Linked DNA regions of Homo sapiens: region 1 is linked to region 2. Evidence: promoter capture Hi-C in 16 types of primary human blood cells and fetal thymus (Javierre and others, 2016). All regions are on one chromosome and are shown on one strand. The core of a region is centred on a gene start or on the middle of the fragment in contact, and the rest is flanking DNA. Distances in the headings are between cores, read along the strand shown.

What was found. Contacts are between HindIII fragments. The CHiCAGO score rates a contact against its expected background, and 5 or more counts as called.
Region 1: a contact is called between a fragment that was not itself captured here and the fragment with the promoter of RPL22 in region 2, in 4 of 17 cell types (endothelial precursors, megakaryocytes, M1 macrophages and 1 more). The highest score is 8.0, in endothelial precursors.

The regions. Positions count from the first base shown.
Region 1 is chr1:6,068,080-6,075,421 of GRCh38, reverse strand. It overlaps KCNAB2 (potassium voltage-gated channel subfamily A regulatory beta subunit 2), which reads right to left. Exons shown (of 16, transcript NM_001199862.2): 3 at 2,624-2,667; 4 at 1,652-1,689. Among named protein-coding and RNA genes, the nearest start is that of KCNAB2, 26 kb to the right of the region's middle. RefSeq lists an enhancer at 757-1,956. The HindIII fragment of the contact is 4,024 bases long and covers 818-4,841 here.
Region 2 is chr1:6,194,693-6,201,375 of GRCh38, reverse strand. It overlaps RPL22 (ribosomal protein L22), which reads left to right and starts at 1,781. Exons shown (of 4, transcript NM_000983.4): 1 at 1,781-1,814; 2 at 3,620-3,724. The coding sequence starts at 1,803. RefSeq lists a silencer at 1,890-2,029. The HindIII fragment of the contact is 15,793 bases long and covers 1-2,901 here.

The DNA.
Region 1 (7,342 bases), core at 1,580-4,079, 130 kb after region 2:
CACATGTCCATCACTGTGTTCCTGATGGAGACACTGCAGAGGCCTGGGCCAGCGGGGCTGCCACTGGGCCATTCATTAATGCTCTAAGGGTATGCCTGGTTTGCTGGTGAAAACGTCATCTCATTGGATGGGTCTAGTCTGTCTGCTTGTTTTTATCTTTCCCACAAGGACATACAGGCCACCCAGCTAATATTGTTTGGAAATGAAGTTATGCCGTTCTACAGAATTCTCCCATCCTGGTTTAGAAACCACATCGAAAGGGAAACGAGGCCAAGTCAGGCAAGGCTGATTCAGATTGAACCATATGGGCCCCAGGGCTCCAACTGAACCAATCTGGTGGGCTGAGGTAAGGCAATTCCTTTTGCCTTAATAACTCCAGACTTCACCCTGAGATAGCGCCTATCCAGCAACTTCAAAGCAAGGGGCAAATCATTCTATAACCAGCTATTGTCTTTTTTTTTTTTTTTCGAGACAGAGTCTTACTCTACGGCCTAGGCTGGAGTGCAGTGATATGATCTCGGCTCACTGCAACCTCCCCCTTCTGGGTTCAAGCAATTCTCCTGCCTCAGCCTCCTGAGTAGCTGGGATTACAGGCGCCCCTACCACGCCCAGCTAATTTTTGTATTTTTAGTAGACATGGGGTTTCACCATGTTGGCCAGGCTGGAACTCCTGACCTCAGGTGATCCGCCCGCCCCAGCCTTCCAAAGTGCTGGGGTTACAGGTGTGAGTCACCGCGCCCGGCCAGCTAGTGTCTTAAAGATAAAAGTGACCTCAAACACAAACTGTACGCATTTAAATTTTGATAGAAGCAAAGCTTTCCCTTGGAAACTGAGCAATCGCAGCTAACAAGGTCTCACATCAATTCGCTGATCAATTTTTAAACGCAACCTTTCTAGTGCTAAGTAGGATAAATGTGAAAACTGCTTCTTGTGCAGATGCCCAGAGCTGTCTGAGCAAATGCCACTGCTCTCATTTCTGAGATGCTGCCTCACTGTCCAGAAGCACACATGTCTGGGCGTGTGCCGTCCCTGTCCTTCCGAGAGACCCAGAGGCGCTGGCGGCATACAAGCTGGCTTTTTGTTAGTGTTCACTTTCTTGTTCCAATTGTGGGGACATGAGCCCCAGCAAATACATCTGACTGCGATCCGCACGGTTCGCGGCAGCTGGGAAATGGACAGTGGATGTTGGGTGAAATGCAGATCTCAGGTTCTTCAGCTTGTGACACTGCAGGGGCTGCATTCCCAATGACCAAGACAGACAGTTACTGGAGCCTCCATGGGGGCAGCTAGGACCTGCATCCGGCTTCAGAATTTGGGAAGCGTGTGCACCCTGAATTCTCCTCGTTAACTGTGGAATGGGGGTCACGCGTGTGGGAAATCTGAGTCCTGGGGAGCTTAAGGGACATGCTGAGGCCCGAGGCATCCACTGCTGGGTGATGGCACCAGACTCGGCATCCCCTCTGGCCATGGCCACCTGGCTCACCTTTCTACTCTCCCCTGGGGCAGGGCGCCCTCACAAAACAGAAAGAGGGAGGGAGGCTGCTGCGCTGGCTCCCGGGAGCACGTGCTCACTGGTCCACGCGGCAGACTTAACCATGTGCTCTGGCGAGCCCGTGCTGGGTTCTGGGGTGCTGGGAGAGCCCCATCTTACCTCATCGGTGATCTGGCCTCCGAAGGTCACCCATGTTCCTGGAAGGAGACACAGGGGCTCAAGTTAGGAACCTGGCAGGAAGCCAGATTATCCCGTCGGTGCTCAGACCTCAGGCTGTAGGGCACAGGGGGCAGCCACAGGTGTCCCTCTGTGCTGCTCTGTGGCCAGGGTGTCCTTAGTGTGTGTGGACAGCTGGCCTTCAGAGAAAGTCCTGCTCTCCTGGGGTCAATAAACTGAGGGGACAAAAGTCTCTAGAGCGGGCTGCTGGCTATGGGTCCAGGAGGTCTGGGGCTTTTGAAATGCTGGTCAGAGCTGTACTGAGGCAGCTCTAGTTCCAAGGACATGCCGCAAGAAATGGCACAAGGGATGCCTCTCTGAAAACACACCAGGTCTGACAGCCGCGTCTGCGTGCTCCTGCTGGGACAGAGCGGGGAGGGCGGTGTCAGGGCAGTGGGTGCTGGTGGGGGGCGGGGTGTGTGTACTGCAGTGGGCGGTGTGTGTGTGGGGGTGTGTGTACTGCATGCAGAGGGGAGGTGGGGACTGCACATTCTGGAAACAGGCCTTGTATCTGACAGGAGAGGAAAAAGGGCCAAATCCAATGGCGCTCCAGGAGGGACTCACGAGCTGAGCCTGCCTTGGAAGGTAAGGTGTCTTCGTTGCACTCCCGGGGCCCTAAGGGCCTCTGATTTTGTGGTGTGGGGTGGGGACCATGTGTGGAGGGGCCCCTAGTATCCGCCTCACCTCCTCTGCTGAGACTGTGTCTCTCTCCCTCTATCCCAGCCCCCCTCCCACCTGCCTCTTTGTTGCCATGGCAACCGAGCCCCCCTGAATCCTGGGCTCTGGGTGCAGCTACTCCCTGGGGAGTGCCAAGGTTTGGGCCACCCTGCCTCCCAAGGGGTGTCCAGTTCAGTCCATGCCCGGCCTCCCCACAGCCTGTTTCCCTGGTGGGACGGAGGGGACCCCCACACTCACCAAGTCCCAGGCAGGAGACCCGCAGGCCAGACTTGCCCAGGTTCCTGAAAAACAAACGCCACGTGAGTTCTCAGCACCCAGGCAGGACCCTGCCAGCCAGGCTCAGTTCCCGCCAGGGCCAGCCCCCCACCCACTCCCCCAACAGTCAATGTGTGTTTGGAGGCTCCGAAAGGCACCGGGGACCTTCAGAGAGGTGCCTCTGCTCACCCACCCCGGGGGTAAAGTGCCAACTGCCCCCGGCCCACACCATGCTGCTGGCACGGGCCCTGCTGGTGCCCAGTGGGGGTCTGCAGAGTGGTCTCAAGGACAGATGGAAATGCACAGGGACGCTGTCTGTTTTATGGCGAAACTGGACTGGTCTCACCCCCATGGCACCATCCATGCGGCGCCCCTTGCAGAGAAGCCCCTTCTTCCTTCCTCTCTAAGGCTGCATTTGTGATTTTGTGTCTCTTCTTCCTGTCTCCAGCGACTGGGGCAGGAGATCGTCCCACTTCACTGGACCACATGGCCTGTGCATCTGTCCCTCGGGGTGCGGGGAGCTCCATGGTAGGGCTGCCAGTTCTCAAGCAAGGCCAGCCCTTCCTTTGTTACAGCCACAGCCAGGCCCAACAGCAGCGGCAGAGCCTGGCAGCGTAGGCCTCCTAACCAAGCACAGCTGCCCGGGCTCCTTCCCGGGGCCACTGAGGCACCTGCCCACTGTGGTGCATCCCAGGGTCCACAGGAACAGGCCTTGGGCCATCATGACTGTCCTTAGGAGGTGAAGGAGGGTGGCAGCCCTCTGCTGAGGACCGGCATGCCCGTATGTCCTGGCACAGGTTGCCTAGGAGCCTGCAGGGTTGCAGCAGGCCAGGCAGTCCCCAGGCATCCTGTCCCCGGATCCTCCCGGGAGCCCTACGCGGCAGGAGGAGCCCTACGCGGCAGGAGGAGCCCACGCGGCAGGAGGTGCCCTCGCGGCAGGAGGTGCCCTATGCGGCAGGAGGTGCCCTCGCGGCAGGAGGTGCCCTATGTGGCAGGAGGAGCCCACGCGGCAGGAGGAGCCCACGCGGCAGGAGGGAGCCCTCGCCGCAGGAGTCCTACGCAGCAGAGCCCTATGCGGCGGCAGGAGTCCTACGCAGCAGAGCCCTACGCGGTGGCAGGAGTCCTAAGCGGCAGGTGCCCTACGCAGCAGGCGCCTTGCTTGTCGTGACATCGATTCCCACGTTACGATACCTGCCCAGCACGCGGAGGAGCTGGATCCCACCCAGGCAGTTGGCTGCCAGCTCACGTTCCCCACCATGGTGGCATGCATCCCACACCCCAGCCTGTTAAGCAGGGCGTGATCTGCCCAGATGGTGAGGTTGACAAGTGGCCGGGTGGATCTCACAGCTGCAGCCAGGCCTTGACCCATCTGGGGTCAGATTCCACTTCCCTTGTGGAATCCAGCTGCCAGCATCTGGTCAAGGGGCAGCTGGTTCTAGGCGGTGGGGAGTGAGAGCCATGAGTTACCAGCGGGTGAGGCCCAGCCTCCTGGCCCAAGGGCCCTGCATTTCCCTGGGGCCATGACACTTCCAACTTCGGAGGATGCGATGTCCTCAGTTTATCCTCTTTCCTGTCCAAGCCTGGCCCCTGGGAAGGCGGCATGGGGCTCAAGCCTCATTCTGAACCCCCGACTTCTGACACGAGCCCACTCTGTCCCTCTCAGCCTCGGTTTCCCTGGTTATAAGGCTCCTGGACTCCTAACTCATGAGTGGATATAATATTTGTAAGCAGCTTGAAAACAGTTGAACGTGTCACCAAACTGAAGGTACTTTAAAATTGCCTAGGTTTATTTTTCAATTTCCTATTAAAACCACTCCAGCTGCCAGCAATATTGCTCCTGTAGGCAGAGCTGGGATTTTCCCTAAAGGAGAACATAAGAAAAGCTGAGTTTTCTTTCAGGAAAGGGGCGCACCGGGTGGCGGCTATGGGCTGAGGCTCTGAAGCCAGAGCCCAAATCCTGGTACAACTTTCCTGGCTGGAGGACACCGGGCATTTTATGGAGTGGCCCGATGCCTCAGTGTTCTCATCTGCAGAATGGGCTCACGAGGCTGCCTTTCTCACGGTGGCTGCCACGAGGACAGAAGAAGATCCATGAGGATAGAAGGCCACAGGACACTGACTCACATGTGTCTCATTTCCCAAAGAGAGCAGGAGGGTAACCTTTTCTTTATTCAAAAACAATGGACAAATCAAATAAGCTTTAACTATTACCATGTTAAAAAGGAACTGAAGTTTCCTTTTTCCTCCTTATACATCAGTGAAATACTCTTGATAGTACCCTCTGAATTGCTGGCATGTTCCAACCCAGAATAACTCGTGTCTGTGGCTGCTGGGGAGAACAGCCCAACTGTACCACTAATACATTCCACATAAGCCTGGTCAGTTTAGAAGTTTAGGTAATTTCCCCCATGCTGGCTAGAAAGTAACTGTGGTAAGAAATTATAAATGCTTAGTAGGAGTCCAATAATGAAGCAAAGGGCTGGAGGTTCTGATCAGTGCCTCTCAGCTGCTTTGGGGTCATAACCCCTTTGCAAAAACAGATAAAGCCTGGAAATATGCCTAGATACGAATGCCCTCAGAACGAACCTTGCTTGCAATGTCTGGGTGTTCACAGAGCCCTGGACCCCACTGGTCTAGATATGTCTGGGCATCGAGAAGGGAGGCCTGGCCCCCACCTCTGCAAAACCACCTCCACGAGTGACTGTGGGGAACAGTTGCTTGAAAAGGCTCTGCTGAAGGCCAGGTCAGGGCTGAAGAGAAGAGGCACCCCTTGGTCACCAGTTTGGGGAGGGCTGGCAAAAGGTGCCCCTGCCCCTGATTCCATATCTGTTCCTGGTCTGAGTGTTGGGAAATGGGCCCACTTCCCCGAGTGGGCTCTGGGTTCAGCCGCTCTTCCACCCACCACCCACAGGACTAATTTAACAAAACTAGGGCACCACGTGATGCCGCAATTACCCTGCTCAACTTGTTTCCCTGTGAAAATGATGGTATTGGTTCTGCCATCCGCTGCCAGGCCTCGGGAGAAGGGATGCGAAGGGACAGGGCGCCTCCAGGCTGAACGCTTTGTAAGCATGGCTGCTGCGTGTGGGGTGGGGAGCACACGTCTCAGCCGGGTCTGGATGGGGCTGCTCCCTGCTGTACTTGAAACTTCCCAGACACAGAGATCATTTTCTACCGATTTCTTCCCCATCGTTGAAACCTGACATCCTAATGAAGCAGGTGGTCAACATCTCGAAACCCAAATACTGTCGGTCTTCATTAATTTGCCTCATGTCTCTCCTGGGGTCTGGACTCCTGGAGTGAGGACTCACAGACATAACCTCTGCCGGAGGGGAGCACTGATGCCCATCGTGGAGCCCCCGGCTGCTGCACACCCCTAAAAACTGCACTTCAGACTTGGGAAGGGCCGGAGCTGGAAGGCTCCGGGAAATGACAGGTCATTTTACAAAGAGGAGTTTGGGGCCTTTCATTGGAGCCACCTGGGCAGAGGACAAAACTGTGATCAGGTGAAGGGCAAGCACCGTGGCCTTGGCTAGCTGGTTGCGGAGGAAGGCACATGGGGTGGCTCCTGTTAGTGCCCTGCTCGCCTGTCTGCTCCGTGCAGTGATGATGTTTGCACGCCTGCCCTGCTCCGAGATTCCAGGCTCCCTAAGGACAGGCTGGGCTTCCAGTCTTTGTCTTCTAATTGGAGCTGGCAGTGGCAGGGTCCCAGGGAGTGCTTGTTTGGGACGATGTTGGGTAGTAATTCAGGGGTGAGAAGCCCAGGCCCTGGGGTCAGACTCTCGGGACCAAGTGCTGGCCCCTCCCTTACTTATCAGGCTTGGCCTCCCGCCATCCTACACTGAGCACGCCTTAGGCCCTTGGGCAAGAATGTGGCGCCTGGTACTGGCCATGCACCTTTAGTTTCCTAGTACCTGTGGACTGTGCGTGTCACTGGACAGCTGTGCCTGGAGCACACCACTGGGAAGGGCCAGCTTCCCAGGGAGGAGGCCAGAGTCACAGGGAGGCTGGGATCAGGCTCCCCCTCAGTCCCTGCTGCCCCCCTCTTGCACCCTGGCTGTGGCCCTGGGACAGTCCCTGTGCAGCAACTCATGACGCAGGTACCGCATGAGTGGGATGGGAGAGGCCCGGGGCGGGGGTGCCCGATGGCACAGGCTTTGGATTCTAAGGCCCATCTCAGCCCCTGTGAAACTGCACCTCATCCTACAGGGCTATGAACCTACCCTCCCGCCGTGACAGCAGCAAGGAAAGCTCCCAGGCCTGGCCAGGTATAAGGCGGTGTTTGCAACTCCACTGGAGAGATGGGGGTCCCTCAGTCAGAGAGTGCTAGGGCTGGGATTTGAACTCTGGTCTGCAGACTGCAAACCCGCCCTCAGTCAGAGAGTGCCAGGGCTGGGATTTGAACTCTGGTCCACAGACTGCAAACCTGCCAGCCTGATGAACACCCCCCTTCACTGCCCTGTCTTGCCCTCCCTGCCTCCAGCACGCACGTGTGTGCATGCACACATAAGCACACACATGGGCGTGGTGAGCATTCACCCTCTGAGAGCCACTCCTCAATGAGTTTTAGGAGGGAAACAGTGTTAACAGCCACACTTTCCAATTACATAGTGCCTTATGTTTAGAAATAGTCCCGCTTTTAACTCCTTTGAGATCCTAGGACTGACATAAAAGTTGCAGAAGGCAATAGGTATCTGAACC
Region 2 (6,683 bases), core at 532-3,031:
TCAACTGCTGAGAGGGAGGTTTAGGAAGAAGGGGCTGGCATTATGACTGAGGTGTGAAATAGTCTTTTGGGCCAGGTGCAGTGCCTTATGCCTGTAATCCCAGCAATTTGGGAGGCCAAGGTGGGAGGATCACTTGAGCCCAGGAGTTTGAGGCTGCAGTAAGCTATGATCACACCACTGCACTCCAGCCTTGGTGACAGAGCAAGACCCTGTCTCTATTAAAAACAACAAGAAAGGGAAATAGTCCCTTGGGGGAGAGATTTAGGATTGTCAGTAGCCCTGAGGGCTCGCTTAGGGTCCGTTATCAGCCAGGGTCCAGTCAAAAGACAACACATTATAGTTTTTAACTGAGAGAATTTAATATAAAGGATTGTTAACTAGGTATAAAGATGTGTTTAGGTAACTGTCGGGGTATAATACTAACAGTAGCAACTGCAGGAAGTAGCTACCACTGGTAGGTGGTATTATTAAAATGTAGATGCTTGAGGAGGGGCACAGGGAGGTGAAACTCAGACATCTGAGGAGAGGGTGCTGCTCTGCTAGGGCTGGTGTCTCTGAGGAGAAAACGAGGCTGGTTCTGCAAATGTTGGAATAAGTGCAGACTGGATTCCACTGCTGCTTCCAGAATGTTCCAACTGCCACCTCCAGGATAAAGAAGCAAGAGTGGATGACACCAGACAGGACAGGAGCAAGCAGGAAGCAAAGCCCCCTATTGATAGAGCCAAACCGGGATCAGCTGGAAAGCAGAAGTGTTTGCAGAGGCCCAGCCTGATCATTATAGAGCCAAGAACAGCAGCTGGCTTTGGAGCTTGGTCAACCGGCTTGAGGCCTGAGTTGAAAGCTAGACCCATCAGCACAGTCTCTTCTGGTGATTGGACTTTTGCTAGGTGAGTACACTGAAGCCAGGTAAAGGGAGTGGAGAGTGTGTGTGCCACTGAGTGATTTACAATTCAGGATCCTGGAATATAATTCCGTGAGGACGCAGCGGGTGACTGGGTGCAAAGTAGCCCAGTTCAAGGGACCTGTGGGCCTGGGGATGAGGACCTTTGCTTCTCCACATGCGGTCCATGGACTCGCAGCATCAGCATCGTCTGAGAGCTTGTGAGAAATGCAGAATTTCAGGCCACTGAGACCGCTGGAATTGGAATCTGCATTTTCCAGATCTCCTGGTGGTCCTCAACTACTTACTGGTTTGGGATGGGAAACTAGAAGGCTTGGGCTGGGAAACTAGGGAGTGGTGATCAGCGAGGGGGCGGCCTGGCTACAGCAAAAAGGACAGGCACTGGGAGACAGCCCCTGGGCATGAGCTTCCAAGCTGGGGCTTTTTGAGGAAGCCATAGTGGTCTGGCATTGGGACCTCTGAACGAAATTTCCCGGTGGCTACAAGGAATTTTCCCACTTCCCCAAATTAGTAGATTCGATTTCCATCCCACTAGCTGGTAATTTACAGTATAGTGAATTTCCTTATTTCTTTTTTCTTCCCAAGACTTTCAAAAAGTAAAGCCAACCCCTTTATTTATCTTTGGGCTCGTCCAGTCTGGCTTCCCCCCTCCGATCGTTCGCAGTGGGACAGCCCGCCGGGCCTCCTTCCTTCCCCAGAAACCCTCCAGGCCTGGGAGAGGACGCGTTTTGCATTCAGGAAAAACCAATCGCTCCCCTATCGTACATAACCAAGAGAAAAGGTGGCGGACGAGGGGCGTGGCAAAGTGATTAGTGCGGCCTGGACCCTGCGTGCCTTGCGCGCTGCGGGCTCTTTGCGTCTGCGTAGTTCGCTCACCTCCCTTTCTAACTCCGCTGCCGCCATGGCTCCTGTGGTTAGTATGGCTCCGCGTGAGGCCTCGGCTCCAGGGGAGGCACGTGGGCCTCGCCGAGCCCGGCATCTACCCAGGCTCGCTGGGGACGGCGCCCTGCAGCGTCCTGCTGGGGTGGGCTGGCAGGTCGGCCGGAGCGGGCCAGAGCCCCTGCCGATCCCAGCACGTTGTAGGCGGAGGAGGCCGCGGCCCGAGGCTCGTGAGGGAGATCCGGGAGGTCTCGGAGGCCCGGGGCCCCAGCTAGGGGCTAGCGGGGAGCTGGAGCCTGGAGACTGCGGTCTGGGCCGGCCACTGGTCCTCGGACCCCGGCCGGGGGCCTGATTACCTGGGTGGAGGGCGGGGAAGAAGAACGGGACCTGCTACCCTGGGGAGCCGCGCATTCGGAAGTCCACGGCCAAGACTCGGGGACGAATCCGCGGAAGGGCGGCTTGGTCGGCGTGCTTTCGGAGAGGAGGCCTGGGTTTGAGGAGCTTTTTAGCGTCCCCAGAGGAAATTAGTTTATCAGGGCGCACTGTACAGACCCAAACGGGTGTTGCAGTGGTGTAGGGAGAAGGCTCTCATTGCATTCTCCTTTAGCTATGCTGGGACTGGGCTGTGCGGCGCCCTCCTCCTAGGTTATTTGAGAAAGTTGTTTTTCCGTGTTCTTCGTCCCAAGATCCTACTTTTCCTCTTTTGTTGGGACTCCCTGGTTAACATTTCCGGTTCTTCTGCTCTTTCTGTCTGGTTGGGCTTTTGAATGCCTTTTGGTTTAAAACCTTGATGGAGAAGTATCAAGCCCGTTGTGGGTAGGTCTCTTGATTGATTGTGTGTGTTCGGAATAGATCTTAAAGTACCCCTCTTAGATTATTACTGCGAAGAGACGTTGTAAAAAATAAATCAGTGATTTTTGTAGTGGCCAAATGTTTGAAAAGTTGATCCAGTTAACACAAGTTTTAGATGAAGTTCTTTTAAACATGAAGGGAGGTAAGATGTGTTTTTGGAAAAGTCTATTTAGTTCTGCAGAGCTTTTAAACGTGAAAGTACAGGTTGGTACGATGCACAAGTGCATTAATGGTGTCAAGTTTGTAGAGAGATAAGATTAACACAAGCTTCTTCGTAAGAGTGAAGAAACTGGAACCTTGTAGGATGTGCTTTGCCGGGTGGTTTGGAAGTACTAATGCATAGATGAAGCGAATCAAAATGTCAGAAGTTCTTGACGGTAGTGTTGTAATAAGATTCTAGGTTTTAGCCTTAACCTTGTCCAAGCTGGAGTGGACAGGCACCTAGAATACTTTGCAACTCCCTTCATGAGAAGGTGGATGAGACAGGATTAAGGGAGATGAGCTAAGACGGATCAGGACCCTACTCTGAACATGTAGGACAAGGATTGATTTCATATGAAAATTGTGGGTATGCAAGGCATTTTGTATGCCTGCACTCTAATTTTGGAAAAATAGTATTTTTTTGAAATTGGGAATGTTAGGGCAAACAAAAGGAAGTGTTCATTTTATTGTGGTTCATAAACTAAGAGACCTTCATGCCTGTAGAGATTGGGGAGACTGGAAAGTTTGAGTGAGTCAAGAGTGCTAGAATGATTTCCCCATCAAAAGGGCATGACCCCAGGCCCCAAGCTTGTACAGCAGCATCTGCCCCATTATACCTCTGGCACTCAGGCAGTGATGCCTCTTGGCCCTCTGGCAAAGGGAGCACACTTCCGTTAGTTTTGTATTTGTATGGACTTTTATACCTATGACGTTTCTGGTTCTGTTAATCTTGTTTTTCCGACTGACTGAAACTTCATCTCTGTTATCATTTGTGTATTTTCTTAGAAAAAGCTTGTGGTGAAGGGGGGCAAAAAAAAGAAGCAAGTTCTGAAGTTCACTCTTGATTGCACCCACCCTGTAGAAGATGGAATCATGGATGCTGCCAATTTTGTAAGTTACATCCTTATTGCCACTCGGGTGGTCACGAACATTTTGAGATACTGTTGAGAAAACCTACTGGGGTACATTTCTGTTTTCAGGCTTATAGGCAGCTTCACAGGTCTGGCTGTATCATCTCACCCTGGGAATGTGGGCAGATTACTTGTTTGTTTCCAAGTCTTGTTTCTTCTTGTGTGTGCAACAGTTGTGAGGAGTAAAAGGAGATGGGCTTAGAATAAGCAAGAAGGGCTCTAGCACAGAGGTGTTAGAGGACTATCTTGTTTTTCTCCTTTAGTTTCCACAAATGATTTTACTTAAAAGTTACCCAGAAACAAGCCAGGCACGGTGGCTCACGCCCGTAATCCCAACACTTTAGGAGGCTGAGGCGGGCAGATCATGAGGTCAGGAGTTCGAGACCAGTCTGGCCAACATAGTGAAACCCCGTCTCCACTAAAAATACAAAAAAATTAGCTGGGTGTGGTGGTGTGCACCTGTAATCCCAGCTACTCGGGAGGCTGCAGTAGAAGAATCGCGTGAACACGGGAGGCGGAGGTGGCAGTGAGCAGAGATCGCACCATTGCACTCCATCCTGGGAGATAGTGCGAGACTCCGTCTCAAAAACAAAACAAAAAAAGTTACTGAGAAACAGACAAATTTCACTGGGTCCATGGCATCCCCCTTGCTGTTTGGTGTGTTTAAGCATAAGTGAGGGACCCTGATCCTGACTATGGGCTGCCTCTGTCCTGGGTCTCACTGCTTTGATGTGGAGCTTTGGACAGGTGGCAGCAGTTCCCGAAGCTTTTCTATATTATGAAGCATCTGAGCTTCAGTGTTTAAAGTACCCTGCTTGCTGAATTGTAATTGGAGCTTTTTTTTTTTTCTTCAGATCTTGCTCTGTGCTGATTTTTTGCCCCTGTATTTGGCCCATTCCCCAATATTCCTCTATCCTATTGCAATCTAGAAATATTAAATAATCCTTCCGCCACATTTTGACTCAGCAGTTTGGTTTTGACATTTTATTCTTTTTCCTCTAATAGCCATGTTTGGGGGATTCAGACTTCGTATTTGTGTGTAGAAGTCTCCTAAATTTGCATTTGCTCTAAATTCTCCAGAAGGTTGAACTATTGCCAGGATCAGTATCATTACAACAAAAATAATTTTTAAACACAAAATAATTATGGTCACGAATTATCCAGAATGGAATTTAGGTAACCTCTTATAGTTTATTGCCTTTATGTAGATGCTGTTTGCATCTGTGTCCTTCAAGAAATCCCCTATTTCCTTAGTTCTTTCTCTATCCAGTGACTTCTGGCTTTTCTGTGGCCTCCTCTTTTTCAACTTTGGTGTCTTCCAGTTTGGTATTCACATGGTGGCCCTGTTCTGGCATTATTCCTGCCTCCCTCCCTCTGAGCCATTCCCTCAGCCCACTCATCTGTTTGTGTGATTGTCTTTCCTTCTGGAAGCCTCCTTAGGATAGAAAACTTAAGTCATTTATGAATCTTGAGATGCAGAATTCAAGATTTCTGACCTAATCACTCTGTGCCCCATCTATGGTTAATGTATACTTTTTGTTTATTTTATTTTATTTACTTTGTTTTTTGAGACCAAGTTTTGCTCTTGTTGCCCAGGCTGGAGTGCAATGGTGCAGTCTCGGCTCACCACAATCTCCGTTTCCCTGGTTCAAGCCATTCTGGTGTCTCAGCCTCCCGAGTAGCTGGGATTATAGGCGCCTGCCACCACGCCTGGCTAATTTTTGTATTATTAGTAGAGATGGGGTTCCTCCATGTTGGTCAGGCTGGTCTCGAACCCCTGACTTTAGGTGATCCACCCACCTCGGCCTCCCAAAGTGCTGGGATTACAGGCATGAGCCACTGCGCCTGGCCATTTTATTTTATTTTTATTTATTTATTTTTGAGGTGGAATCTCACTCTGTCACCCAGGCTGGAGTGCAATGGTGTGATCTTGGCTCACTGCAACCTCCACCTTCCAGGTTTAAGTGATTCTCTTTCTCAGCCTCCCGAGTAGCTGAGATTACAGGCGTGTGCCACCATGCCCACCTAATTTGTGTATTTTTGTGGTAGAGACGGCGCTTCACCATGTTGGCCAGGTTGGTCTTGAACTCCTGACCTCAGGTGATTTGCCAGCCTCGGCCTCCCAAAGTATCGGGATTACAAGCATGAACCGCTGTGCCCAGCCAAATTTTTTTTTTTTTTTTTTGAGACGGAGTCTTGCTCTTTGTCACCCAGGCTGGAGTGCAGTGGTGTGATCTCGGCTCACTGCAAGCTCCGCCTCCCATGTTCATGCCATTCTCCTGCCTCAGCCTCCCGAATAGCTGGGACTACAGGTGTCTGTCACTATGCCCGGCTAATTTTTTGTATTTTTAGTAGAGACAGAGTTTCACCGTGTTAGCCAGGATGGTCTCAATCTCCTGCCTTTGTGATCCGCCTGCCTCGGGCTCCCAAAGTGTTGGGATTACAGGCGTGAGCCACCGCGCCTGGCCCCAAATTTTTATTTATTTATTTATTTTGAGACGGAGTCTTGCTCTGTTGCCCAGGCTGGAATGCAGTGGCACGATCTTGGCTCACTGTAAGCTCCGCCTACCGTGTTCATGCCATTCTCCTGCCTCAGCCTCCCAAGTAGCTGGGAAACAGGCGCCCGCCACCACGCCTGGCTAATTTTCTGTATTTTTAGTAGAAACAGGGTTTCACCATGTTAGCCAGGATGGTCTCGATCTCCTGACCTCGTGATCTGCCCACCTCAGTCTCCCAAATTTTTATTTTTTGAGAAAGGGTCTGTTGTCCAGGCTGGAGGGCAGTAGCATGATCCTGGCTCACTGCAGCCTCAACCTCATAGGCCCAAGTGATCCTCCCACCTCAGCCTCTGGAATAGCTGGCACCACAGGCATGCACCACCATACCTAGCTAATTTTTAAATTTTTTTGTAGAGGAAGGGTCTTCCTAAGTTGCCCAGG